Regions from separate parts of the Homo sapiens genome. Here regions 2, 3 and 4 are each linked to region 1. Evidence: promoter capture Hi-C in human tissues and cell types (Jung and others, 2019). All regions are on one chromosome and are shown on one strand. The core of a region is centred on a gene start or on the middle of the fragment in contact, and the rest is flanking DNA. Distances in the headings are between cores, read along the strand shown.

Region 1 (6,304 bases), core at 2,783-5,282:
AGCCCCAGTGGTCAAAGGCGCAGCCCTGGCCCTGCATCTCCTCATTGGACGAACATGCTCACGCCTTCGTAAGCACCTGTGCTCCGGTGACCTGGCCCAGATGATTAATTCCAGGTTCCTGCGGTCTTTACCTGTCTGACAAGATAAGAGCTGGCAACCATTTCTGGTTCTCCCTGCCTTCACCTGCCCTCAAGATTGCCATCGTCAGTGAAAAAACACCTATTGTTCTCACCTGTAGCATTTCCAAACCAAGAGCTGCGTCACTGCTGGAGGAAAGGCTGGTGGGGGCACAGAGGAAAGGAAATTTACACCCCACCTTCTTGTCAAGGAGGAGGTGAGTGATTTCTGGGTCAAATTATGTAAAATCAAGGCTGTCTCATATGTAACACAGAAAGGGGTTGAATGAGATGTTCTGCACGCCAGGCCTATGTACTCCAGGACCCTACAGGTACCGAATCTGCTGCTACATGAACAAGCCACCGTCTCCACCCAAGTCACCTCCAGCCCGCTGAGTAGAGTCATCTCTATCACTGGCCATCAGCACCGTGCCTAAAAGCAGGGCCACTGAGCGGCCCTAGGATCCTGCGTTTAGACACACCACACATGAGAACTGCCGCTCCTAATTCCTGTGAAAGTGGGGGCACACAACCACAGGAAACAGAAAGGGAAATAACCCTCTAACAGGGAAGATATAAGGAAACAGTTTGTTTAAGGAAGTAGGCTGTTTCACAGAAATCCAGAGAGGAAAAGTCAGACTTCATAGAACGCTGTGAAACGGCATGTCTCTCAGGAACAGGTGGGAAGGGAAGGTTTTGTATTCTGCCCCGAGGGAGGCAGGGCGCCGCCAACTTCCAAAAGTGTGTGAAATACACCAACAAGCCACAGACTGACAGTAGACCTGAACTCTTCTCCAGTAAAACAAACCTGAGCCGTACAGAGAATTAAAAAGCTTTCTTTACATGCCACCTATGGAGGAAAAGGGCCCAGTATTAAGGTCTTCCTCAAAGTGAAATATTTTGGTGTCATGGGTGAGGGGGCAGCAGTACAGGCTGTGTAAAATAGTGCCTGGGAATATTCAGGGGGCAGTGATGGCTGAGGGAACTCTGCATCTCATCATTAGGAAGAAAAAGAGGCAGCCACCGTGGGAGGAAGAAGCAGTACACAGGAATTGGACAGAAGCCAACCGAGCACTGTCACCAAGAGCAGCAGGGAATGCCAAGGAGGGAAGTGTGAGGTCAAGCACAGCCACGCAGAGAAGGAAGGGAGGGCTGGGAAAGTGCTCCACAGGCCTGGAGAAGAGTCCCTGAGCTGTAGAGACAGTGTCAGAGGATGGTGGGGTCAGTGGCAGGAAGCAGGGAAGCAAGTGCTGCCTTGACGAGACTTCCTGCTGCCCGGCTCCCCTAGGGCTCTTGGACGTGACATATGCAGGTGGGAGCACACCTACCCCCCAGATAAACTCGCCCCGACAAGGACTGCCTGGTTCATGGCTCAGTTCTTCGCAAGCTACCTAAAGGCTTGACATTATCAAGTGTTCAATACATGACCATGAAGTCTTTGAACACTTTGCAGTTTCGTTAAAATAAGAATTTAAATTCAAGAAGCAGAAAGCTGAGAGATTGACTTGTAGCATACTTAATTCCTTACTAATGTCACTAAGAAGACTGGTGAAATTTGTACTGAAATAGCAGCACAAAACCTAGAGTTCCTTGTTCAAGGAAAGGAAAAATGTGCTAGATAGCTATGAAAGCAGCCATTTCACACGAAGCTTATAACATGTACCAGCTTCATAACAACTTCAGCGTTTGGCAGGAATGTTATCACTGGCAGAACACAGGAACAGAGCAGACTTTGTCTGTGATAGTCAACCTGCATGTGGACCTCCTTGATGTCTGGAGCTTTGTTGTGAGACCTCAGGCTGCTTTCCTCAGGACCAAGGCCCCTAACGATTCTAGCTGACTAACAAATGCCTGGGTTAAGGTTTCACCACTGACTACAAGTACCTGATTTTTAAAAATTTTTGTGCACATTGATTCGGTTCTTTCCTTGGTAAAATGTAGTTACTAATAAAGACAGAATTATGACATCCTGGACCTGGTTTAAATTAAGGAACCCTGAGAGGAAGCCGAAGTCCAGCAAGAGCACAATTAGCAAATATGTTAGGACCTGGCCTCTGGCTCTTTTGCCCGGACAGGGTTTTAGAGAGGGGCAGGGAAGAAAAGGTGTTTTCCCTTCAACAAGAATTACAGATTGTTTTCTTCCAGTTTAGTTTGGTAACAGGTAGATTTCACAGAATGACAGTAGTCCAGCCTGGGAGCAGGTAGATTTCACAGAATGACAGTAGTTCAGCCTGGGAGCAGGTAGATTTCACAGAATGACAGTAGTTCAGCCTGGAAGCAGGTAGATTTCAAAGAACTGCAGCAACAGCTTGTCCATAACAGGTAGAGTCATTCACTCCTGGGATGAGCCAAGCTGGAAGGAATGTGTCCTAGGAGACTCAAGGTTTCCCAATGTTTCATTTGTCAACAGCTCATAAGCAAGTCACTTCCACTTCACACGACCTCACAGAGACCCCACACAGATGCATTTTGGATTTTGGTGAGCTGTTATAATAGTCAGAGGCAGGGACAGGCTCAGCCTGAATCCTGCTCAGAGGCCAACCAGGATTGGTTAGTGCGAGTCAGCCCACACCTCCTTCCCCCATGCTCCGGAGGAACAGTGGGTGTGTTGTGAATTCACTGGAAAAGTGGTTGGAAGGACGCATTCCAAACTGCTAAGACCTCCCCTCCTGGAAGTGGGACTGTGGTGTGGATGGTTCTGGAAGAACGCAAAAGATACAGGGCCCTGACCTTTAGGCCTAAGCGTGTTAATGACCATACACGAAGCAGGTGTTTCTCAGCGTCCCCCTGCCACCGCCCCGACTTGTACTGTGGGCTTATTTTTAAAGAGAAAGATGCTTCTAACCTGCAGTGTCTACAACAGCTCCCATTTAAGAACCCGGGATTGGAAGCTCATAGATTGCGTTTCGTAGCCGGACCGCTCCCTTTCACACATGTAGTCTCTCTGCCCGCCACACGTAGCACACACAGTGGGACCCGGCGCCGCTGAACGCCTGCACCTTCAAGCCCGCAAATGGTTCTCTATCCTTTTCCAGGTACTTGATCTTCAGAGAAACACGATCTCCCTCTTAGACCTTACTTTACAGTTGCTGCCACGCAATGACTTAGGATTTTACCAAGAATTGGCTTGGGTCTGTTGGGATATGAATATTAACCCAAGCAGGAAAATAGCCAATGCTGCCTGTTCGACCACGAGCGGGTGCGAAGCGCAGGGAAGACTCCTCAGGGTCCACCCGCCCCTTGTCCCCCCTGCTCCCCAGGCAGCGTCTCCGCCCTTGGACCCGGAGGCAAGGAGGAGCGCTTCTCCCAGCACCACCAACCTGGAGGGCTCCGCCGGACGGTTGGGGCCTCCCCTCGGAGACCAGAGCCCGCGCTTCCAGGAGGGGCCAAGCCTGGGCCCCTCCCGCGCCCAGCTCCCGTTGTGATTTCCAGGACCCCCAGAAGCCCGGTCCCCTCGCATCGCGGAAGCTTTGCTCGGGGTTCCTGGGACCGGACCCTCTTCTGCGCCCGCGACTGCAGCAGCGGCCAGAGATGCATGCAGCCACTCGCCAGCTGTCACCTGGTTTGCAGACGCCCGCGCACCTCGCAAGAGCCACACCTGGTACCTGTGCCCAGCTGCAAGAGGGTGAGGAGGCGCGGGACGGGATTGGGCTCTGCCCGCGGGCGCGGCTGGACGGCTTGGGCACCAGTGGGGCGGATGGGTGTGTGCGCGGGGTCGCGGAGCGCAAGAGAATGCGGGGAGCAGGGGGCTGAAGGGAGCGGGGTACGGTACTAGAGGCGCACAGGGGAATATGAGGCCACCGAACGCAAGGCGATTGGAAGCGCACGGCAATCAGGGGGACGCGGGGCACTCGCCTGATGAGGGCTCCTGCATAGTCCCGGGCGGCCTCCATGGCGCGGATCCCCTAGCGGGCCTGGAGGTCTGTCTGCCTGCACAGCCTCTTAAAGTGCGGCGGCCCCGCCCCCGCCCGCCTGCCAGCCCCGCGAAGGCCTGACTGGCGCAGGGGAGGACGTTTTGGCACGAGCTCTCCACCGCCGAGGATCGCGACTTCGCGCTCTGGGAGCCCCCGGTCGTCCTGGCTCCCGCAGCCTGGAGCCGCGCGTCCTTCGCTGCCTTGGGCCGTACCGAGGACCTTGGAAGCCCAGATGCTCCCCGGGTCTCTTTTGGTCACTTGCCAGCCTGTTCGTTTTGCACTTCTGGGGGTCGGGGCAGTTGGGGTCATAACCAATCCTGGCAGCATCACTTTGGCCGCGGAAAGACGGGTATGTGGATTTTAAACCCAGGCCACGGGTGGGGCAGGTGAGGAGACGGATGTGAGCGCCACTTGCCTCCAGCTCTGGAGTCCCCCAGAGCCCAGCCCCAGGCTCAGCGAGCCGCTGGTTCCCTGCAGGGATGCGGAAGCTGCCGCAGACACCGGGACCTGCAGCCCTTCAGGTTCTCCGAGGCGCCTGGGCTTCCTGCCCGCTGCGCTGCTCTCAAGGCCATGTCATGAGCATTTGGGGACAGTGAGAAGGGCATGCAGAACGGGAGGGGAAAGGAGCCTTTGGACTGCATGAATTGCCTTTTAGCTGTAGTAAGGGACCCTCGCAGAGTGAGGAGGCAAAGAGTGAACCCCGCTGGGGCTGGGGGACTTCCGTCCACACCCTGCTCTCATGGTTGTTCCCATCGGAAGACGCAATTAGGGCCTCTGAGACCTCCGAGGAAGGCGGGCAGTTACAAGGGGTTCCCAGAACCCCTCACTACAGGACTGAAGAGGTGGGCTCAGTGTTGAGGGGTGGGACTCGGGCAGTAAGAGGTGTAACTTTCTGGGATGGAGGCTTGCTAGGATATCCTCTCGTGCCCAACTGCTGACTGCCGCCTGGAAACAGCGTTTCGGGAGCTGCAGCGGGACCCTCGCCGGCTCCTCCTGAGCCCACCTGGTTTGAGCAGACTGACCTGATCTCTTAAGACCTGACCCTATGCCCGCCCTCTTCCTCCGCTGGCTCTCAGAAAGGGTCACCGTGGTCAACAAGCCTTGTGACTTGCAGGACTGTTGAAGCCAAAGGCAATTGCCTTCCAGAGTCAAGGACTCCGCCTGCTGGGAACACCCAGCTCCAGGCTCACAGGGGGCAGCTTCCCCCAGAGGCACTGAGCGGACACAGCTTTAGGAGGTCATTCACTGCCCCTCCCACTCACAGCCCCAATGTGATGGATGAGAAAATGGGTCCAATCAATTCAGGTCAACTTACCTCTAACCTTTTTATTGTGAAAAAGTTCAAATATAGAGATACATAGAAAGAACAGGGCTGAGGGTACTGGCTTACATCTGTAATCCCAGTACTTTGGGAGGCCAAAACAGGAGGATGGCTTGAAGCCAGGAATTTGAGACCAGCCTGGGTAACACTGTGAGACTACTATCTCTACACAAAAATAACGATAATTAGCCAAGCATGACGGCGAGCACCTGTAGTGCTAGCTACTCAGGAGGCTGAGGAGGGAGGATCACCTGAGCCCAGGAGTTTGAGGTTGCAGTGAGCTGTGATCATGTCACTGCACTCCAATATGGGCAACAGAGTGAGACTTTCTCTCTAAAGAAAGAAAAAAATCTGTTTGTGTGTATATATCTATCTATCTATATATAAGATAGATAGATAGATAGATAGATAGATAGATAGATAGATAGATAAGAGAGAACAGTACAATGAGCACACTTACACCCAGCCCCTGGATTCAACCACTGTTAACATTTTGACATATTTCTTTGTTCTTTATATTTGAATTTGAACCCTTCCAAATTAAATCCTTTAGCTTGCATCTCTGGAGAAACAAGGACATGATCTCATACATAACCATAGTGACATTATCACTTCTAACAAAATAAAAATAAAGACCTGGGCACTGAGTGTGGACATGGGGGTGGGGTGGGGACTAGCAAACATTTCCAGGCCATGGCGATGGCAGAAGGGACCCAGCAGGAGATCACCCTGGGGTTTTGAGCTTGGGAGACTGGAGAGATGAGGAATCCTGGACGGGAGCAAGTCTGTGGTGGAAGCGGAGATGGTGGTGAGACCAGGCCCTGGGGACCCCTTGGTCACGGAGGCAGCATAGCCCTGGTGTGCATTGGTTCTCATGCAGATCTTCAGGCTGGGAGTAAAAGTCGGTCACTGCCCTGCTGCTGAGTGGGAATCCTGGAGTGCTGCGCTAGGAG
Region 2 (6,304 bases), core at 1,981-4,480, 480 kb after region 1:
CATGGACTGATTATTTCCTCAATAAGACTTAGAAATATACCCGCAATGTCTATCGACCTAAACTCTGCAAACAAAAATCAAAATGAGGGATGGTGAAGTGACCACACCAAGCTTGTAGCTGCAACAAGGCTGATACAGTGTATAACCTGGACCCGTGATTCTTAAACCCAGAAAGGTCACCTCACAGTACACAGGGGGACAGGCTCTGGGGTCAGGCTGCCTGGGCTCAAATTCTGAACCATTCTCTACCCAGCTCTATGACTCGGGGCAAGTCAATTATGTTCTCTGGGCTTCTGTTTTCTCACATATGAAATGAGCCACCATTCTCCACCCATAAGATTGCTGCAGTTATACAGCTTAGGGCAGTTCTTGGCATGAAGTGCTGTTCAAGCAGTGGTCGCCATTTTCATTGGTATCAAGCCAATTTATCAACTTCACCAAAAAAGAGGAAAACCAAGGCGTAGGTGGCTCTTTTAGATGGGCGCTCATGCATTTTAAAATCCCAATTTGGTTTTTCTTTATATTTTAGTCTACACTATTTCAGACCACAATACTTTCTGCAGAATATAGTATTTGTTGACTCTTCCCATGCAATGCCAAGCCTTGAAAACTGACAGAAGGCAGAGAAAGTTCCCTGAAAACACCACAGCCTGACTCTTAATTCAGAGCCAGGCTTGTTCTTCGGCCACACCAAGACGTGCCGAGTCAAACTGGGCCCCGTGCGTGGCTTCAGCACTCGGCAACGTCTGAAAAGGCAGCACACACACATAACATTACGCATGGTGAAGGGTGACCAGGATGACATCTCACATTTACTGAATGTTTAAGGTGTGTCAGGCACAGGGCCCAGCACTTCAGATGTATTATTGTATTTAATTCCCCCAAAAAGCTTCATGTGCTAGGCATTATTATTATTATCCCCATTTTACAGATGAGGAAACTGAGCATAGAGATACTAATTAACTCAACCAAGGTTACATAGACAGGAAGAGGCAGAGGTGAGACCAATTGCAAAGTCTGCACTCTTAACCATAATGTTAAGGAACTTTTACTCTAGTCACCGAAATTACTCAGATGCGATTGTTTTTATATAATCATATGCGTAAAACTATTGTGAGATTTTTCTTTTGAGACAAGGTCTTCCTCTGTCATCAGGCTAGAGCACAGTGCTGCAATCATAGGTCATTACAGTCTTGACTGCCTGGGCTCAGGTGATCCTCCTGCCTTGGCCTCCCGAAAAGCTGGGACCACAGGCATACAACACCATGCCCGGCTATTTTTTTTATTTTTATACAAGATTTTTTGTAGAGATGGGGTCTCATAATTTTGCCCAGGCTGGTCTGGTCTTGAACTCCTGCACTCAAGCGTTCCTCCAACCTCGGACTCCCCAAGTGCTGGGATTAAAGGGATGAGCCACTGCATCTGGCCTATTATGAGATTTTTGGTACTATTTTGTTTCCTCTCTTTTCAAAAAAGAGCCTTAAGAAACAATATCAAGCCTACCGTGGGGACCATTTCAGAGACTGGTTATGTAGTGTGTCATCCCGTTTATCTCCTGCTCCAACACATACCAGGAATCTTTCAGGGTGATTTACACAAAGCCTTTTAAACAGACTGCTCTAACTTCTAGTTGTTGCAATTGTAGGTAAGTGAGCATGTTATGTGCTTAGCCACAAAAAATGGGTAACTATGGGTGGGCAGTGGACATGAGACGTGCAAGCCCTGGTAAGGGGACACCTTGGTGCCAGACAACCCAGGGGCTGTGTGTCTTTGGGAGAACTGGCTGCCTCTCATCTCAGAGGTCAGGGAAGGCTCCCAGTAGAGATGATGGTGGCAAGTGAGGGATGCAGCAGATGTCACTGCTGAGAGTGAAGCACAAAGGCAGGTGCAGACCTGAGCCTGTAGCATAGAAGGGCAGGGCTGGGCCCACTGTGACGGGGCCTCTGTCCGCAGGGAGGATACCTACCACTCGATGGCAATGCTGTCTTCGCAGGACAGGGATGTAAGGGACTGTAATGAGAGACTGACAGGTGACATTTAATCTAACGGGTTGAACCGTAAGAAACTGCCATATCAGAGCTCAAAATTGGCCAAATATTGGCAATTTTTAATAGTTCAACCTAATAGATAATGAAACTCCGCTGTATAAATGCAGACCCGCACCCTGCATGAATGGAAGCGACAAGAAGAGAACTGGATGAGGAATCGGGAGACTCGGTTCTAGTCCTGGCTTTGCCTCCAGGTCAGCACATCTGGATGACCCTGGACAAGTCTCGTAGAGAGTTGCGCTAATGCCCTGCTCATCTGTAGAGGAAGTCTTGGATCAGACACACCTAAGTGCGCTTCCAGCTGAAATGCTAAGATTAGAGGCAAAGCCACCAAAAGAGCACAGATGGGGAAGCTTGGTCAAAACACAATGGAGACATCAACTCTATTTGGCCCTATGATCACCTGGAACAGGACGGCACTGGGGGCAAACTGATGGGCATGGAATTGAAGTGAGAAACCTGCAAAGATGCAGTCTCCTGAATTTCTCAGTAAAGAGAACCACAAGAGAAGCATGAGTGGTAATTTGACTTAAATACTAAGTATGGAATTTCAAATTTACCTTCAATAAAATCAACTAGGACAATTTAAAGCATTCTTTTTATTGAAGCACATACATTTCCTGAATTTCTTACAACTCTTTTCTATTATCTGTCCTGGTATTTTTATTTATTTCTGCTATAATAGTCATACTGTATTCATACCATAAAATTTTACACTGGAGCAAGTGTAATAAAAAAGTCCAAGAATGTCTCTCCATGATCTTCCTGTAGGGCTAGATGCTCTTGAAATGATTTGTATGATGTGGGGGACTTCTGAGAAGGAGCACCTCTGCGGTGTCCAAATTTGCACACAGGGGCGGGGCACCAGTAATCCCAGCACTTTGGGAGGCTGAGGCAGGTAGATCACCTGAGGTCAGGAGTTCGAGACCAGGCTGGCCAACATGGCGAAACCTGATCTCTACTACTAAAAAAAACAAAAAAATTAGCCAGGCATGGTGTCACACACCTGTAATTCCAGCTACTGGGGTGGCTGAGGCAGGAGAATCGCTTGAACCCAGAAGGAGGAGGTTGCAGTGAGCTGAGATCGCACCACTATACTCCAGCCTGGGTGACAGAGTGCGACTCCATCTCAAAACAAACAAACAACAAAAAAATTTGCACACAGGGCTGTGCTGGCCATACTGCACTTGCCACTGTCCCTGGTCTACCTGCTGAATTCACCCATTCTTCAAAGGCCAGGCCACCCCTCACCTTCCCTGGGATAGCACCACTATTTCTCCCAAAGGGCTGTGTCCACCTTCCCCTTGCCAACATGACAGTGTGTCCTAGGGGTTTAAGCTCTGTGAGCCCTGTGAGAATTCCCGTGGGTGTACACAATTCAGCTTAGTATTTCCAATGCTGAACATAGTTCCTGACACATATCAGGTCATCATTTAGAAAAAAAAATGAAATGCCTGTTCATATAAAACTGATAATGATTAATTTCATTATCATTAACTTCCAATTAGTTAATGTTAACATTAACATTAACTTCCAATAAGTTATGAAAATTCACATGATGATATAACACACTACTCACTATAACATTTTAACCAAAGAAATAAGAAACACTAATGATAATCTCTTTTTTTCTTTTTTTTTTTTTTTTACAGAGTTTCACTCTTGTTGCCCAGGCTGGAGAGCAGTGGCACGACTTCGGCTCACTGTAACCTCTGCCTCCCAGGTTCAAGCAATTCTCCTGCCTCAGCCTCCTGAGTAGCTGGGATTACAGAGGCCTGCCACCACGCCTGGCTAATTTTTTGTATTTTTTTAGTAGAGACAGGGTTTGATCATGTTGGCCAGGCTGGTCTCAAACTCCCGACCTCAGGTGATTCACCTGCCTTGGCCTCCCTAAGTGCTGGGATTACAGGCTTGAGCCACCGCACCTGGCCATGATAATATTTATTGGCTTAATTCTTTCAAGCAGTTAAAGATGTCAGCTGATGCCACGTGATTTAAGAAAAAAAGTAAACATATAACACCTTAAGAACTATTTTTAAAAAACTTAAATTTAAAACTAAATACCTTAAAATGATATATCTTCATTCAATATGTAAAGTATTAGAACACTTACATAATATCTAAAATTTAGATTATTTAAGGAGATTATTTAAGCTTGAGAAAATGGAGATAGGAACCTCCCAATAATTTAAAAGGTATTCTTTAGGGTAATGGTACACTCCTGTGGATTAAAAAAAATGCAACCTGATAATAATGCCATAAAATCTTTAACATTATTTTTAATAAAAATGAAAACTCAAATAACTGTTATTTTTCTACAAATACTCTGGTTAAAAATTACTCGTTTGACTGAGATTGCATAGACAGCTCTAGAAACAATCAAGAATAATGGGTGGTCAAACTCATATGATTCTCACATGGGTGGTGGCAGTAGGGAGGAAAATTAAGAGAAAATATGTTTTCCCTTTTTTCTTTTTTCAGAGATGATTCTAAAGGTTTTGCTATGAAAATATCATTCTTTTCAGATGTTTCTGAAGAATAATCATTGAGGTAAGTTTAATATTTGGTAATATTTTTATTTTTGTTTTTAAATTATTAATTTATTTTCAAATCATACTCAGTTTGAATTCAAATAGTTCAAAAATTAATATAATGCTTCAGGATGCTTCCAGCTATTGAAACAACTCAATTAAAAATGTACAACTCACTTTATTTTAGTTAAATTCATAATGCAGGTAATATTAAAAATTATTATGAATATTTAATAATGCTTTATAATTTGCTTTTATAGTACACCACTACAGACACATAAAAAGTTGAATTATCTAATTAAAACATTTTCCCTTCCTATGATTCTAATTCTGAAAACTATAAAAATATTAAAGTCATGTTACATATTTTTCAAAAACAACACTGCCATATCCCATCAATATTTGGTAATATTTTTAAAAAAATGTTCATCATTTACGTATTTTGTGCATGATTCAGCCTCTGCATGTGCCAGTGTGTGTGCATGTGTGTGTGTATATTTTAGACATGTGTGTAAATAGGTAGGATAAGCAAGATTGTAGTAAGGATCATTTTACCTCCACTTGGGATGAGAAAATGGAAATGGAAATGACTGAAGCAACCAACATTTGTTTATCTTTTTGCCATAAACTTACGTGCTTCATGAAATAAAAAATATATACTTCAATTTGTTTGAACATATTCTTTACCAACGTTTCTTTAAACACTAAGTAATTACGTGCATGTGTAATAAACTAACTCCCACAACTGTGGATTCACTTTAAGCTAAAAGATGATGCTCTTCATTTTTCTGAACATCATGGAACAAGTTTGTAGACCAAGGGCTCATTCTTGAGCTCTAGCCAAAGCTTACTGTCCCCCAGACCTGAGAAACTGATGCTGCTATGCTAGGAGTGGCCTTGATTTTGTGATGGGGATATGGCTTCCTGACTAGGCTCTGCTGATGACAATTTTACCTTCCCAGGAAGCCCTACTGTACGAAGTGCAACAATGAAGACTTTTGTCTGAGCACAATAGTCCTTATTAATCTTCTTTTCTGAATGGCTACAGAATGTCTAGTCTATACCACATGAGTTAGCATTAAACTACATGCCTTATTTTTCATTAATTTTATATTACACATTATATATATTATATATAATTTATATAATCTATATTATAATATATATTACATATAATTTATATAATCTATATTATAATATATATTACATATAATTTATATAATCTATATTATAATATATATTACATATAATTTATATAATCTATATTATAATATATATTATATATATTATATATTATATATAATATATTATAATATAGAATATATATATTCTATATTATAATATAGAATATATAATATATATAATATATTATATATAACATATAGTAATATATATAATATATATAATAATATGTTATATATATATTTTTTTTTTTTTTTGAGACAGAGTCTTGCTCCGTCGCCCAGGTTGGAGTGCAGTGGCGTGATCTCGGCTCACTGCAAGCTCCGCCTCCCGGGTTCACACCATTCTCCTGCCTCAGCCTCCCGAGTAGCTGGGACTACAGGCGCCTGCCACCAGGCCTGGCTAATTTTTTGTATTTTTAGTAGAGACGGGGTTTCACCATGTTAGCCAGGATGTTCTTGATCTCCTGACCTCGTGATCCGCCCGCCTCGGCCTCCCAAAGTGTTGGGATTACAGGCGTGAGCCACTGCGCCTGGCCTTTTT
Region 3 (6,304 bases), core at 1,467-3,966, 460 kb after region 1:
TGATCCTCCTGCCTCAGCCTCCTGAGTAGCTGGGACTACAGGTGCATGCTATCATGCCTGGTTAATTTATTGTAATTTTTGTAGAGGTGGGGTTTTGCCATGTTGGCCAGGTTGGTCTTGAACTCCTGGACTCAAGTGATCCAGCTGCCTCCAGCTCCCAAAGTGCTGGGATTAGGCTGGGCAGGGTAGCTCACACCTGTAATCCCAGCACTTTGGGAGGTTGAGATGGGCAGATCACCTGAGGTCAGCAGTTCAAGACCAGCCTGGTCAACATGGAAAAACGCTGTCTCTACTAAAAATACAAAAATTAGGCAGGCATGATGGCAGGCGCCGGTAATCCCAGCTACTCAGGAGGCTGAGGCAGGAGAATCGCTTGAACCTCGGAGGCAGAGGTTGCAGTGAGCTAAGATCGCGCCACTGCACTCCAGCCTGGGTGACAGAACGAGACTCTGTCTCAAAAACAACAAACAAACAAACAAACAAAAAACAAAGTGCTGGGATTACAGGCGTGAGCCACTGGGCTGGCCTGTCCTTTTTTTTTTTTTTTTTTTTTTTTTAACCTGTGTGTTTTTAATTGAAGTGAAATTCACATAACATAAAAGTAACCATTTAAAAGTGTGCAACTCAGTGGTGTTAGTGTATTTACAGCGTTGTGTAACTGCCCCTCTAGTTGAAAGGCATTTTCATCAGTCCAAAAGGAAATCCTGTGCCCACCAGGTGGTCACTCCTCATTCCCTCTTCCCTCCAACACCTGGCAACTACCAATTTGCTTTCTGTCTCTATACATTTGCCTATTCTGGACATTTCATATGCTTGGAATTACAATATGTGGCCTTTCACATCTAGCTTCTGTCACTTAGCATACTGTTTTCAAGGTTCATCCATGCTGTGGCAAGTATCAGAACTTCGTTCCTTTTGATGGCTGAGTAATATTCCCTTGCACGGATAGAAGACATTTTGTTTATCCATTCATCTGTTGATGAACATTGGGTTGTTTCCACCCTTTGGCTATTGTGAATAGTGCTGCTATCAACATTAATGTGAGATACGTTTGATCCTCTGCTTTCAGTGATTTTGGGATTGCTGGTTCATTTGGTAGTACTATGTTTCAGCTTTTGAGAAACAACCAAACTGTTTTCCACAGTGGCTACACCATTCTGCACTTCCAGCAGCAATGCATGAGGGTTCCAATTTCTTGACATCCTTTCCAACACTTGTTATTTTCTGTGTGTGTGTTAATTATAGAATTCTAGTGGGTGTGAAGTGGCACCCCATTGTGGTTTTGATTTGTGTTGCCCTAATGACAACAGATGTTGAACATCTTTTCATGTGCTTATTGGCCATTTGCATATATTCTCTGGATAAATGCTAAGCAAGTCCTTTGTCCTTTTTTTTTTTTTTTTTTCCCGAGATGGAGTCTCACTGTCGCCAGGCTGGAGTGCAGTGGCGTGCAATCTCGGCTCACTGCAACCTCTGACTCCCGCTCCAGCCTCAGCCTCCCAAGTAGCTGGGATCACAGGCACGTGCCACCACGCCCAGCTAATTTTTTATTTTTAGTAGAGGCACAGTTTCGCCATGTTGGCCAGGATGGTCTCGATCTCCTGACCTTGTGATCTGCCTGACTCAGCCTCCCAAAGTGTTGGGATTACAGGCGTGAGCCACTGCGCCTGGCCCCTTTGTCCATTTTTAAATTATTTGTCTTTTTGTCGTTGAGTTGTAGATTTTTATTTTTTTAGAGACAGGATCTTGCTCTATTGTTCAGGCTGCAATGTGGTGGCACAATCATAGCTCACTGCAGCCTTGAATTTGTGGACTCAAGTGATCCTCCTGCCTCAGCCCCCCAAGTAGCTGGAACTACAGGTGCATGCCACCAGGCCTGGATAATTAAAAAATAAATTGTCTTGTAAGAGATGGGAGTCTCAATTGTTGTCAAGGCTGGTCTCAAACTCCTGGGCTCAAGAGATCCTCCCACCTCAGCCTCCCAAAATGCTGAGATTAAAGGCATGAGCCACTGCACCCAAGCAAAAATTCTTTATATATTCTGGTTACTAGACCCTTATCAGATACACAGTTTACAAATATTTATCTCATTCTGTGGATTGTCTTTTTGCTTTCTTATGTCCTTTGATGCACAAATTTTAAAATTTTGATGAAGTCCAATTTACCTATTTTTTTCCTTTGTTGCTCAAGCTTTTGATGTCATATCCAAGAAATCACTGCCAAATCCAAGATCATGAAGATTTACCCCTACATATAGTCTTAGCTCCTATATTTAGGTGATTGATCTACTTTGATTTAATTTTTGCATATGGAGTAAAGTTATATATGTCTCTTAGAATTAGTTCAATCTAGATTATTTCTCAAATTTCCACAACTTTTTATTGGAAAATGACACTATTCAATAATATAACAAGTCCAACTATATAAACATACCTAAAGTTACTAAGGGATTTGGTAGTGTCCTCTGTCATATGGAAGTTGCATCACCATGTCACCAGGTTGGTAGTTTGCCAAAGACACTTTAAGACAAGAATTACCCTCTCCTTCAAATCTTATAATCAATGCCCAAGTATTCCCTCAGTGCCAACAATTGATCAATCATTCAACAAATATTTATTGAGCTCTAACTCTGTGCTAGGCACCATGCTAGGAGCTAGGATACTGCAATGAATGAGAAAGAGGTGCCCTTGTCCTCAAAGAGTTTGTAATTTTGCAGATTATGTGTCTAGGACAAGGCGAGATGGCCAATACTCCTGTTCTCAAGAAGTCAACACTTCAGTAGGGAGACTATGGCTAAGACATACCAAGTAATTAGAAAACAATACAAGACAAGCTGGGTGCAGTGGCTTATGCCTGTAATCCTAGCACTTTGGGAGGCCAAGGCGGGCAGATCACCTGAGGTCAGGAGTTTGGGACCAGCCTGGCCAACATGGTGAAACCCCATCTCTACTAAAAATGCAAAAATTAGCCAGGTGCGGTGGTGTGCGCCTGTAGTCCCAGCTACTCGGGAGGCTGAGGCATGAGAATTGCTTGAACTCGGGAGGTAGAAGTTGCAGTAAGCTGAGATTGCACGCCACTGCACTCCAGCCTGGGAAACAGGGTAAGACGGAAGGAAGGAAGGGAGGGAAGGAAGGAGGGAGGGAGGAAGGAAACAATACAAGGCAGTAAGTACTGGATATAATTTCGTGACCAAAGCTATGGTGCCAATTAGGAAAGCCACAGGAAGTGGCCAAAAAGGGAGAGGTTGCTCAGTTTCAGGACAGGTTGGAAAGGTCTCCAAAAGAGGTGGGTCTGAACTCAAAAAATTAGCAGGAAATTAAAATCGGAAATGACAATAGTCATAATCAAAATGATTAACAGTCTTTAACAGACTGGCTTAACTGTGCAGGAGACACCTGTACCAGGGGAGACACCTGTGAGAGGTGAGGCTGACAGTGCTGCACTATGGATGTGGTGCAGACCCTCGGGAGTTCTCGGCACACCTGGATCACTGCAGAGGTAGACATGGGAAGCTACTTGAGTCCGAAGTCCTTTGTGTCCTACTTCGAGTCCTTGCAATGAAACCCAATGAAGCAGAAAACTTGATAGATATCTGTCTACAGCAGCTAACCAGTCTAGATGATTGCACCTATAAGCTAACTCTGTTATTCTCTAATATAAAGTCTTTCCTAAATAGATCACATGCAGTAGCTTAATTTTTTGTGTGTGTTTACTATCTGAGCTTAGTATCTTATTAAGATAGTGTGGAGTTGGTTGTAGTTCCTCCCCCACTTTAAAAGCTTTTAAAATGTTTTACCAAGAGAAACACCCAGGGGAGAAATCAGTTCATTTATTTCAAACAAACAAGCATGATCTCTTGATAATCAACCTTCTGTTTAGAAGGCAAAAAGCATCCCTTATGGCTTCTCTGGTTTCACCCCCTAACCCAGGCGTCTTCACTGCTCAACAGGGGAGCCTGTTCTGCTATGGCTATGGAAAAACACCTAGCGGTTCCCATTCCTGTGGCTGGCAACAAAGAAACAAACAGGCAGGAAATTTAAAAATAACTGTGGCTAGTTGCTTCCTTCAGAGTTTCAACATTACTTTCATGGAAACCTTCACTAGGATCCTAGCCATGGCTTAAGAACCCACACAAACCATTTAGCCATGGCCACCACCATGCCGAAAGGACATGCTTAACCAAATTGTTTGGCCTTCCCTTCACAGCTTTAAAGTGACAGTTTAATTTGAAAACAACTCTGGGAATTAGTCACCTCTCATTCCTGAAATCTGGATATCTTGCTCTGTAAATCCTAAATAGTAGTTTCTGGTTTTTCTTAAATTAAGTATTGGAATAGTTTTGATTGAAAAACCATCAGCTGGCTGGACGCGGTGGCTCACGCCTGTAATCCCAGAACTTAGGGAAGCTGAGGCAGGCGGATTACGAGGTCAGGAGATCAAGACCATCCTGGCTAACACGGTGAAACTCCGTCTCTACTAAATATACAAAAAAATTAGCTGGGCGTGGTGGCGGGCACCTGTAGTTCCAGCTACTCAGGAGGCTGAGGCAGGAGAATGGTGTGAACCCGGGAGGCAGAGCTTGCAGTGAGACGAGATCGTGCCACTGCACTCCAGCCTGGGCAACAGAGCAAGACTGTCTCAAAAAAAAAAAAAAAGAAAAAAAAAGAAAAGAAAAGAAAAGAAAAACCATCAGCCAGGCTGGAAGCCAGAGAATTTTACATAAGTGTCAAAGGGGCCTCAGAGGCAAAAATCAAACATGTTAACACTGATTTCCACCTTGGCACTGACCTCCTTTGCAGTTAAGAATTGCTGAATTAAAATAAGTGGTTAAAAATGCTTTATGAGTCTGTATTAAAAATGAAGTCCATCTTAGTGTGAATGTTACATTATTGTAAACAACACATCCCCAAGGACACATTGATGTCAGAGTGTTGGAAGCTGGGGGAATCGTGAGGAGCTGACAAACGCCCTGGAGAATTTCTTCCTCAGAGTGTCGGAAGCTGGGGGAATCATGAGGAGCTGACAGACGCCCTGGAGAATTTCTTTTGTCCCAACAATGGTGTGCAGAGACCCCAGGGGCAGGGCTCTGAACACCCCCTGCCCACTTGCACAAAAGATAGCTCTCAACCCCTCATCCAACAACTGGCTTGAGGAGGTAAACTTCAAATTATTAAAACCATTCTCCCACTTTAATTTTTACTTTGAATACATTTGACATCTCATTGTTCTAAGAACAACAGCACCCTTCCTGGGCCACTGGAGCGTTCTAGAAAGCTTAAGCCTTTACTTCCTGGAACTTTCTTCTCATTTGCATCATCAGTGATCTGAGTCTGACCTTCTTCAACTATTCCTGTGTTTACAAGGAATCCGGTTTGTGATGTTTTACTTCAAACAAAATCCTTTTATCTGAGGCTTTTCCTCTGCAACACAGCAGCATCAATGAGCTAGAAGCTGCATCTTATTACACTGACACTAACAACAAGGCCCTTTCCCAGCTTCTGGGTCTAAGCTTTTCACGTCCTTCCTCTGCAAGCCACATGAGCAGTATATGTATCAATGGCATGTAAGACTCTGTGTCCACCTAAGAGCATCTCCAGATTCTGGTAGCAAATGCTAAGACAGAGGTGATGATAAAATATAAGGAGGAAAAAGAAGACATGGTACTTTATTAGAACAATCCACTTAAAGTACATTTTGTTTATGCTTATAATCTATACAATGATAACTGGATTGTTGGATCCGTGGGGAATCTGCCTATCTATATATAGTCTTCCCCACCATATGGTGCCATAACCTTAAGTTATATGCACATGGAGTTACCCAAATGAGCTAAGAAGTTGTGAGAAAATGCTTAATTAAAGTAGGTTTGCAAATCATCCTCAATCAATGCCAACTACGTGGGAATCCATCATCACAGTCCGTAATGTTAGAGGACAGTTGCTGGGGCTAGAATTTTCAAAACCACTTTACACTTCTTGTATCACTTATTGCTTACCCAGATTTAAATACCTGAGTATCTGGCAGCAACATGTGATAGGAAAGGGATGTTTTCAACAGACTCCACAATTTTGCCTGAGGCTAGCTAAGGTCTTGGCAAGTAAGAGCAATGCCCTGTTACTTAGGACAGTGATTGAGGGCCTCAACTGCTCCTCTGTGTTGTGGCAGGGTTGGCAGAGGTGTGACCTGAAATGAAGGAGGCCCAAGAAAACAGGTTGTGTGGCATCGAGAAAGACTAGTTAGAGGTGGGAGCAGGTGCTGAAACTGAGATAGGCCTAGAGATGGAACTTGTGGTATCAAGTCCTCT
Region 4 (6,304 bases), core at 1,513-4,012, 330 kb after region 1:
TTGTCTCCATTGCCCTGAGAAGGTAACTTTGGTTACGGTCTTTTGTTTGTTTTTTTGTTTTTAGATGGAGTTTGGCTCTTGTCGCCCAGGCTGGAGTGCAATGGTGCGATCTCAGCTCACCGCAACCTCCACCTTCCGGGTTCACGTGATTCTCCTGCTTCAGCCTCCCAAGTAGCTGGGATTACAGGTGCCCACCATCTCGCCCGGCTAATTTTTTATTTTTAGTAGAAACGGCAGTTTCACTATGTTGGTCAGGCTGGTCTCGAACTCCCAACCTCAGGTGATCCGCCTGCCTCGGCCTCCCAAAGTGCTGGGATTACAGGCGTGAGCCACGGCGCCCAGCCTGATTATGGTCGTTTAATCAGCCCTGCAATCCCCACTCCATAATGCCACCCTGCCAAGCTTCCTGAGCTGCTATCTTTAATGTTAGATGCTGGGGCAGGCAGAATAGTGCCCCTCAGATAGTCATGTCCAACTCCCCAGGCCCTGCCAATGTGTTACCTTTCATGGCAAAGGGGAATCAGGGTTGTAGATGGAACTGATATTGCTGTGGAATAACAAGAAAGATATTTGGTCGTTGTCCCTGGTTTCTGGCACAAAGCTCTAAACCCTTGGAATTTTGAGCAATAGAGTGTTAAGAGCCTCTTTTGTTTTAGTGAGGCAACTCTTGTACTTAGCTTCAGGGTGGGAGCTGGCTGCCAGAAAGACCAAGCTTGATTAGAAGATCAGCATTTCCTGCACCCCCTCCCCCAACCTCCAGGGAAGGGAGAGTGGCTGGAGATTGAGCTGATCACCAGTGGCCACAGTCAAACCTATGGACTGAAGCCTCCATAGAAGCCCCTAAATGATGGGGTTCAGGGAGCTTCCAAGTTGGCAAACACATCCTCATCCCAGAGGGTGGTGCACCCCATCTTGACTGAGACAGTGGCTTCTGCACTCGGGACTTACCTTGTCCTGGGTACTTCTTCATCTGGTTGTTCATTTGTACTCTATAATAAACGGTAAGAGTAAGCACAGCTTTTCCTGAGTTCTGTGAGTCATTCTAGCAAATTATTTAACCTTGGGGTAATGAGGTAGTTGAAACCTCTTTGTAGGAACTTTCCTTTGTAGGTCAATCAGCAGAAGTTAGGCTAACCTGGGAACCCAGTCCTTTCTTTGGTGTCTAAGGACAGTCTTGTGTGACTGTGGAGTCACACAATAACTCCAGGTAGTGTCAGAAAGGAATTGAATTGTAGGACACCAAGCTGGCATCAGAGAGTTGGAGAAGTGGTGTTGGAAAAGACACGGTTGATGTCAAGAGGAAGAAAAAACCCTCAGTTGTTTTTTTTTTCTTTTTGAGATGGAGTTTCACTCTTGTTTCCCAGGCTGGAGTGCAATGGCACGATTTCAGCTCTCTGCAACCTCTGTCCCCCAAGTTCAAGCAATTCTCCTGCCTCAGCCTCCCGAGTAGCTGGGATTACAGGTGCCCACCACCACGCCTGGCTAATTTTTTGTATTTTTAGTAGAGATGGGGTTACACCATGTTGGCCAGGCTGGTCTCAAACTCCAGACCTCAGGTGATCCACCCGCCTTGGCCTCCCAAAGTGCTGGGATTACAGGCGTGAGCCACCATGCCCAGCCAAAAAAAACCCTCAGTTGCTAATTAGCTGATCTTAAAAGTGGGACATGATCCAGATGGACACAGTGTAATCACATAAATCCTTAAACGTGGAAGAGGGAGGCAGAAGAGGATATCAGAGTGGTGCCATCTGGAAAGAACTCAACCACTGTTGCTGTGTTCGAACATGAAGGAAGGGACCAAGAACCAAGGAATGTGGGCAGCCTCTAGATGCTGAGAAAGGTGAGGAAATGGAGTCTCTCCTAGGGCTTCCAGAAAGAACACGGTCCTGTCGACCTCTTTATTTTAGTCCAGTAAGACCTGTGTTGGGCTTCCAATCTTCAGCATTAATAAATTTGTGCTTTTTCAATAATAAATTGGTGCTTTTTCAAACGACTATGTTTATTTTGTATTATTATCATTTTTTGAGACAGGGTCTCACTCTGTTGTGCAGGCTAGAGTGCGGCAGCACGATCATAGCTCACTCCAGCCTCCACCCGCTGGGCTAAAACCATCCTCCTGCCTCAGCCTGCCGGGGCCATCATGCCCTGCCCAAAGCTACTGTGTTTACCAATAGTTTCTTAGAGCAGCAATAGGGAACGAATACAGGTTCAGATTCAATTTACATCTTTTTCTTTGTGGTGGGGGAGATGGTGACAGGGCAGGAGGATCGCCGTCTTGGACAAGCACTGTCCTTCTAAAGTCCCCCTTGATCAAAAACCACCTAAATCCAAAGGGCATCAGCCTAATGGCTAAGGTCAGCATGGCCATAAACCACAAATGACAACTCTGGCCAGAAACATTCCAACCACAAGATAAACACCTCCCCGACCAGAGACATGCCATCCCCGAGATAACCTCCCCACAGGCCAGAGAGATGTCAGCCTCAAGATAACCTCCCGTCCAACTAGAGACGTTCCAACCCCAAAATAAACTTCTCCCTCATGCAGAAACATTCTGAGCCTGTGATAAGCTCCCTCACCCTAAAACCAATAAATACTCTTAGTCTATAAGAGAAAGCGCTCCTGACCAAAAATGGCCAGAAGCCCCTCTCAAGTTTATTTTCCAAAATAAACCTGTCTTTGACTGTTGAGCTGCTTTTCATGTTTCTTTCCTCTTTAATTCTTACAGATGGAGTCTCGCTCTGTTGCCCCGTCTGGAGTGCAGTGGCGTGATCTCAGCTCATGGCAACTTCCACCTCCCGGGTTCAAGTGATTCTCCTGCCTCAGCCTCCCAAGTAGCTGGGATTACAGGCGTGTGCCACCATGCCTGGCTAATTTTTGTATTTTTAGTAGAGACAAGGTTTCGCCATGTTGGTCAGGCTGGTCTCGAACTCCTGCCCTCAAGTGATCCACCCGCCTCACCTCCCAAAGTGCTGGGATTACAGGAGTGAGCCACTGCCCCCAGCCACCATTTACATCTTGATCTTATTCATGTTTCATTTATAGTCATGCATTGCTTAACCATGGGGATAAGTTCTGGGAAGTGCCTCATTAGGCAAACATCACAGAGTGTACTTACACAACCTAGATGGTACAGCTGACTATACACCCAGGCTATACGATATAGCCTATTACTCCTCGGCTACAAACCTGCCCAGCACGTGGCTGTCCTGAATACTGCAGGCTGTTGAAACACAATGGTCAGTACTTGTGTATCTAAACAGAAAAGGTTCAATAAAAATACAGTATAAAAGAGAAGCCGGGCTCGGTGGCTCACAACTGTAATCCCAGCACTTTGGGAGGCTGAGGTGGGTGGATCACCTGAGGTTGGGAGTTCAAGACCAGCCTGACCAACATGGAGAAACCCCGTCTCTACTAAAAATACAAAATTAGCTGGGTGTGGTGGCACATGCCTGTAATCCCAGCTATTCAGGAGGCTGAGGCAGGAGAATCGCTTGAACCCGGGAGGCGGAGGTTGCGGTGAGCGAGATTGCGCCATTGCACTCCGGCCTGGGCAACAAGAGCAAAACTCTGTCTCAAAAATAAATAAATAAATAAATAAAGGAGAAAATATGCTACCCCCTGTATAGGCATTTACCATAAATGGAGCTTGCAGGACTGGAAGTTGCTCTTGAGTCAGTGAGTGAGTGGTGGGTGAAGGTGAAGGCCTAGAACATCACTATACACTACTGTAGACTTTATAAACACTGTACACTTAAGCTATACTAAATTTCCTAAGTCTTTTAAAAGAATAAATTAAACTTAGCTTACAATAACTTTAACTTAGAAGACTTTTTAATTTTTAAAAGCTTTTTGAGTAATTTGTAATAACACAGCTTAAACCACAAACACATTGTACAGCTGAACCAAACATATCTTTTTCTTTCTCTTTCTTTCTTTCTTTCTTTCCTTCTTTCTTTCTTTCTTTCTTTTTTTTTTTTTTGAGACAGTCTTGTTTTATTCCCCAGGCTAGAGTGCATTGGTGTGATCATAGCTCATGACAACCTCAAAATCCCGGGCTCAGGTGATCCTCCTGCCTCAGTCTCCAGAGTAGCTGGGACTACAGGTATATAACATCATGCCTGGCTAATCAAAAATATTTTCTTTCTTGGCCAGGCGTGGTGGCTCAAGCCTGTAATCCCAGCACTTTGGGAGGCCTAGGCGGGCAGATCACAAGGTTGGGAGATCGAGAGCATCCTGGCTAACACGGTGAAACCCCGTCTCTACTAAAAATACAAAAAAAAACAAAACAAAACAATTAGCTGGGCGTGGTGGCGGGTACTTGTGGTCCCAGCTACTCGGGAGGCTGAGGCAGGAGAATGGCACAAACTCAGGAGGTGGAGCTTGTAGTGAGTGGAGATTGCGCCACTGCACTCCAGCCTGGGTGACTGAGCAAGACTCTGTCTCAAAAAATAAATAAATAAATAAATAAATAAATAAATAAATAAATATATATATATATATATATATAACTTCTTTATATTCTTATTCTATAAGCTTTTTTTTCTATTTAAATTTTTTTTTCTTTTTACCTTTCAGATGTTTTATTTAAAAATAAGACACAAACATCTACCTTAGCCTAGGCCTACACAGGCTCAGGATCATCAATATCACTGATTTTCATCTCCACATCTTGTCTCACTATAGGGTCTTCAGGGACAGTAACACACATGGAGCTGTCACCTCCTGTGACAACAAGATAACAATGCTTTCTGAAGCACCTCCTGCAGGAACCTGTCTGAGGCTGTTCACTTTTGTTTATAAGCAGAATGAGTATATACTCTAATGTAATGATAAGGAAAATAGCATGGTAAATACATAAACCAGCGAAAGTCATTCGCTGTCATTATCAAGTATGATGTACCGCACATAATTGCATGTACTGGACTTTTACATGACTGGCCGTGAAGCAGGTGTGTTTATACCAGCACCGCCACAAACACATGAGCAATGCGTTGCTATACAACTTTACTATGGCACTGACATCACTAGACAATAGGGATTTTTCATTTCCATTATAATCTTATGGGACTGCTTGTTTGTATGTGCAATCCATCATTGACCAAATCGTTATTTGATGCATGACTGTATTTTGTGTCTTGCTTTCCTGCTAGAGTAATGCTTCTTAAGCATGCATTTACAGTTGACTCTCATGATTCATAAATTTGGACTTGACAAATCTGCCTACTCGCCAAAATTCACATGTAACCCCAAAGTCAATACTCACAGTGCTTTTGAGGTAATTCACAGGCATGCATGAGTGACACAAGATTTGAGTTGCCCAAATGCACGTTCCCAGCTGAGGTGGAACAAGGCGATGCTCGGCCTTCTTGTTTCGGCTAACGCTGTGAACAAGCTTCCTTAGCATGGTCTAGTTAGTGTCATTTTGCCACATTTTTGTGCTTCCTGTTGATTTTGCTGTTGAAAAGGCCCCAAGCACAGTGTCTTCGTGCTGGCTAGTGTTCCTAAGAGCAAGAAGGCTGTGATGTGCCTTACAGAGAAAATATGTGTGTTAGATAAGCTTGGTTTAGGCATGAGTTTTAGGGCTGTTGGCTGTTATTAATGTAAATATAAGATGTCTTTAGGCCGGGAGCAGTGGCTTACGCCTGTAATCCCAGCACTCTGGGAGGCCAAGGCGAGCGGATCACGAGGTCAGGAGATCGAGACCATCCTGGCTAACACGGTGAAACCCCATCTCTACTAAAAATACAAAAAACTAGCCAGGCGTGGTGGCAGGCACCTTTAGTCCCAGCTACTCGGGAGGCTGAGGCAGGAGAGTGGCGGGAACCCGGGAGGCGGAGCTTGCAGTGAGCCGAGATCGCACCACTGCACTCCAGCCTGAGAGACAGAGCGAGACTCCACCTCAAAAAAAAAAAAAAAAAAAAAAAAAAGATGTCTTTAAACAGAAACACAAATAAAACAAGGTTATGGGCTGGGCGTGGTGGCTCACACCTGTAATCCCAGTACTTTGGGAGGCTGAGGCGGGCAGATCACCTGGGGTCAGGAGTTTGCGACCAGCCTGGCCAACATGGTGAGACTCTGTCTCTACTAAAAATACAAAAATTAGCCGGGCATGGTGGTGGGCGCCTGTAGTCCCAGCTACTTGGGAGGCTGAGGCAGGAGAATCACTTGAACCCGGGAGGTGGAGGTTGCAGTGAGCCAAGATCGCACCACTACACTCCAGCCTGGGTAACAGAGCAAGACTCCGTCTCAAAACAAAACAGAAACCCAAGGTTATGCATTGATTGGTTGATGAAAACGTCAT

The links. The method cuts DNA at HindIII sites, captures the fragments that hold promoters and counts their contacts. A contact is called where the count stands out against the background at its distance.
Region 2: a contact is called between a fragment that was not itself captured here and the fragment with the promoter of CIDEA in region 1, in 2 of the 25 tissues and cell types used here (dorsolateral prefrontal cortex and lymphoblastoid cells).
Region 3: a contact is called between a fragment that was not itself captured here and the fragment with the promoter of CIDEA in region 1, in 2 of the 25 tissues and cell types used here (IMR-90 fibroblasts and spleen).
Region 4: a fragment that was not itself captured here is called in contact with the fragment with the promoter of CIDEA in region 1 in 1 of the 25 tissues and cell types used here (IMR-90 fibroblasts).

Annotation. Positions count from the first base shown.
Region 1 is chr18:12,252,089-12,258,392 of GRCh38, reverse strand. CIDEA (cell death inducing DFFA like effector a) reads right to left here and starts at 4,032. Exons shown (of 5, transcript NM_001279.4): 1 at 3,972-4,032. The coding sequence starts at 4,009. LOC105371996 (a long non-coding RNA gene) reads right to left here and starts at 3,380. Exons shown (of 2, transcript XR_935158.3): 1 at 2,962-3,380; 2 at 937-2,814. RefSeq lists enhancers at 1-134, 4,290-4,896. The HindIII fragment of the contact is 10,266 bases long and covers 2,676-6,304 here.
Region 2 is chr18:11,768,608-11,774,911 of GRCh38, reverse strand. All of the region lies in intron 4 of GNAL (G protein subunit alpha L), which reads right to left. Among named protein-coding and RNA genes, the nearest start is that of CHMP1B, 80 kb to the left of the region's middle. The HindIII fragment of the contact is 3,169 bases long and covers 1,646-4,814 here.
Region 3 is chr18:11,789,013-11,795,316 of GRCh38, reverse strand. All of the region lies in intron 4 of GNAL (G protein subunit alpha L), which reads right to left. Among named protein-coding and RNA genes, the nearest start is that of CHMP1B, 59 kb to the left of the region's middle. The HindIII fragment of the contact is 5,353 bases long and covers 40-5,392 here.
Region 4 is chr18:11,922,087-11,928,390 of GRCh38, reverse strand. The region is part of intron 2 of LOC101927511 (a long non-coding RNA gene); the gene reads left to right. Among named protein-coding and RNA genes, the nearest start is that of MPPE1, 17 kb to the right of the region's middle. The HindIII fragment of the contact is 4,409 bases long and covers 558-4,966 here.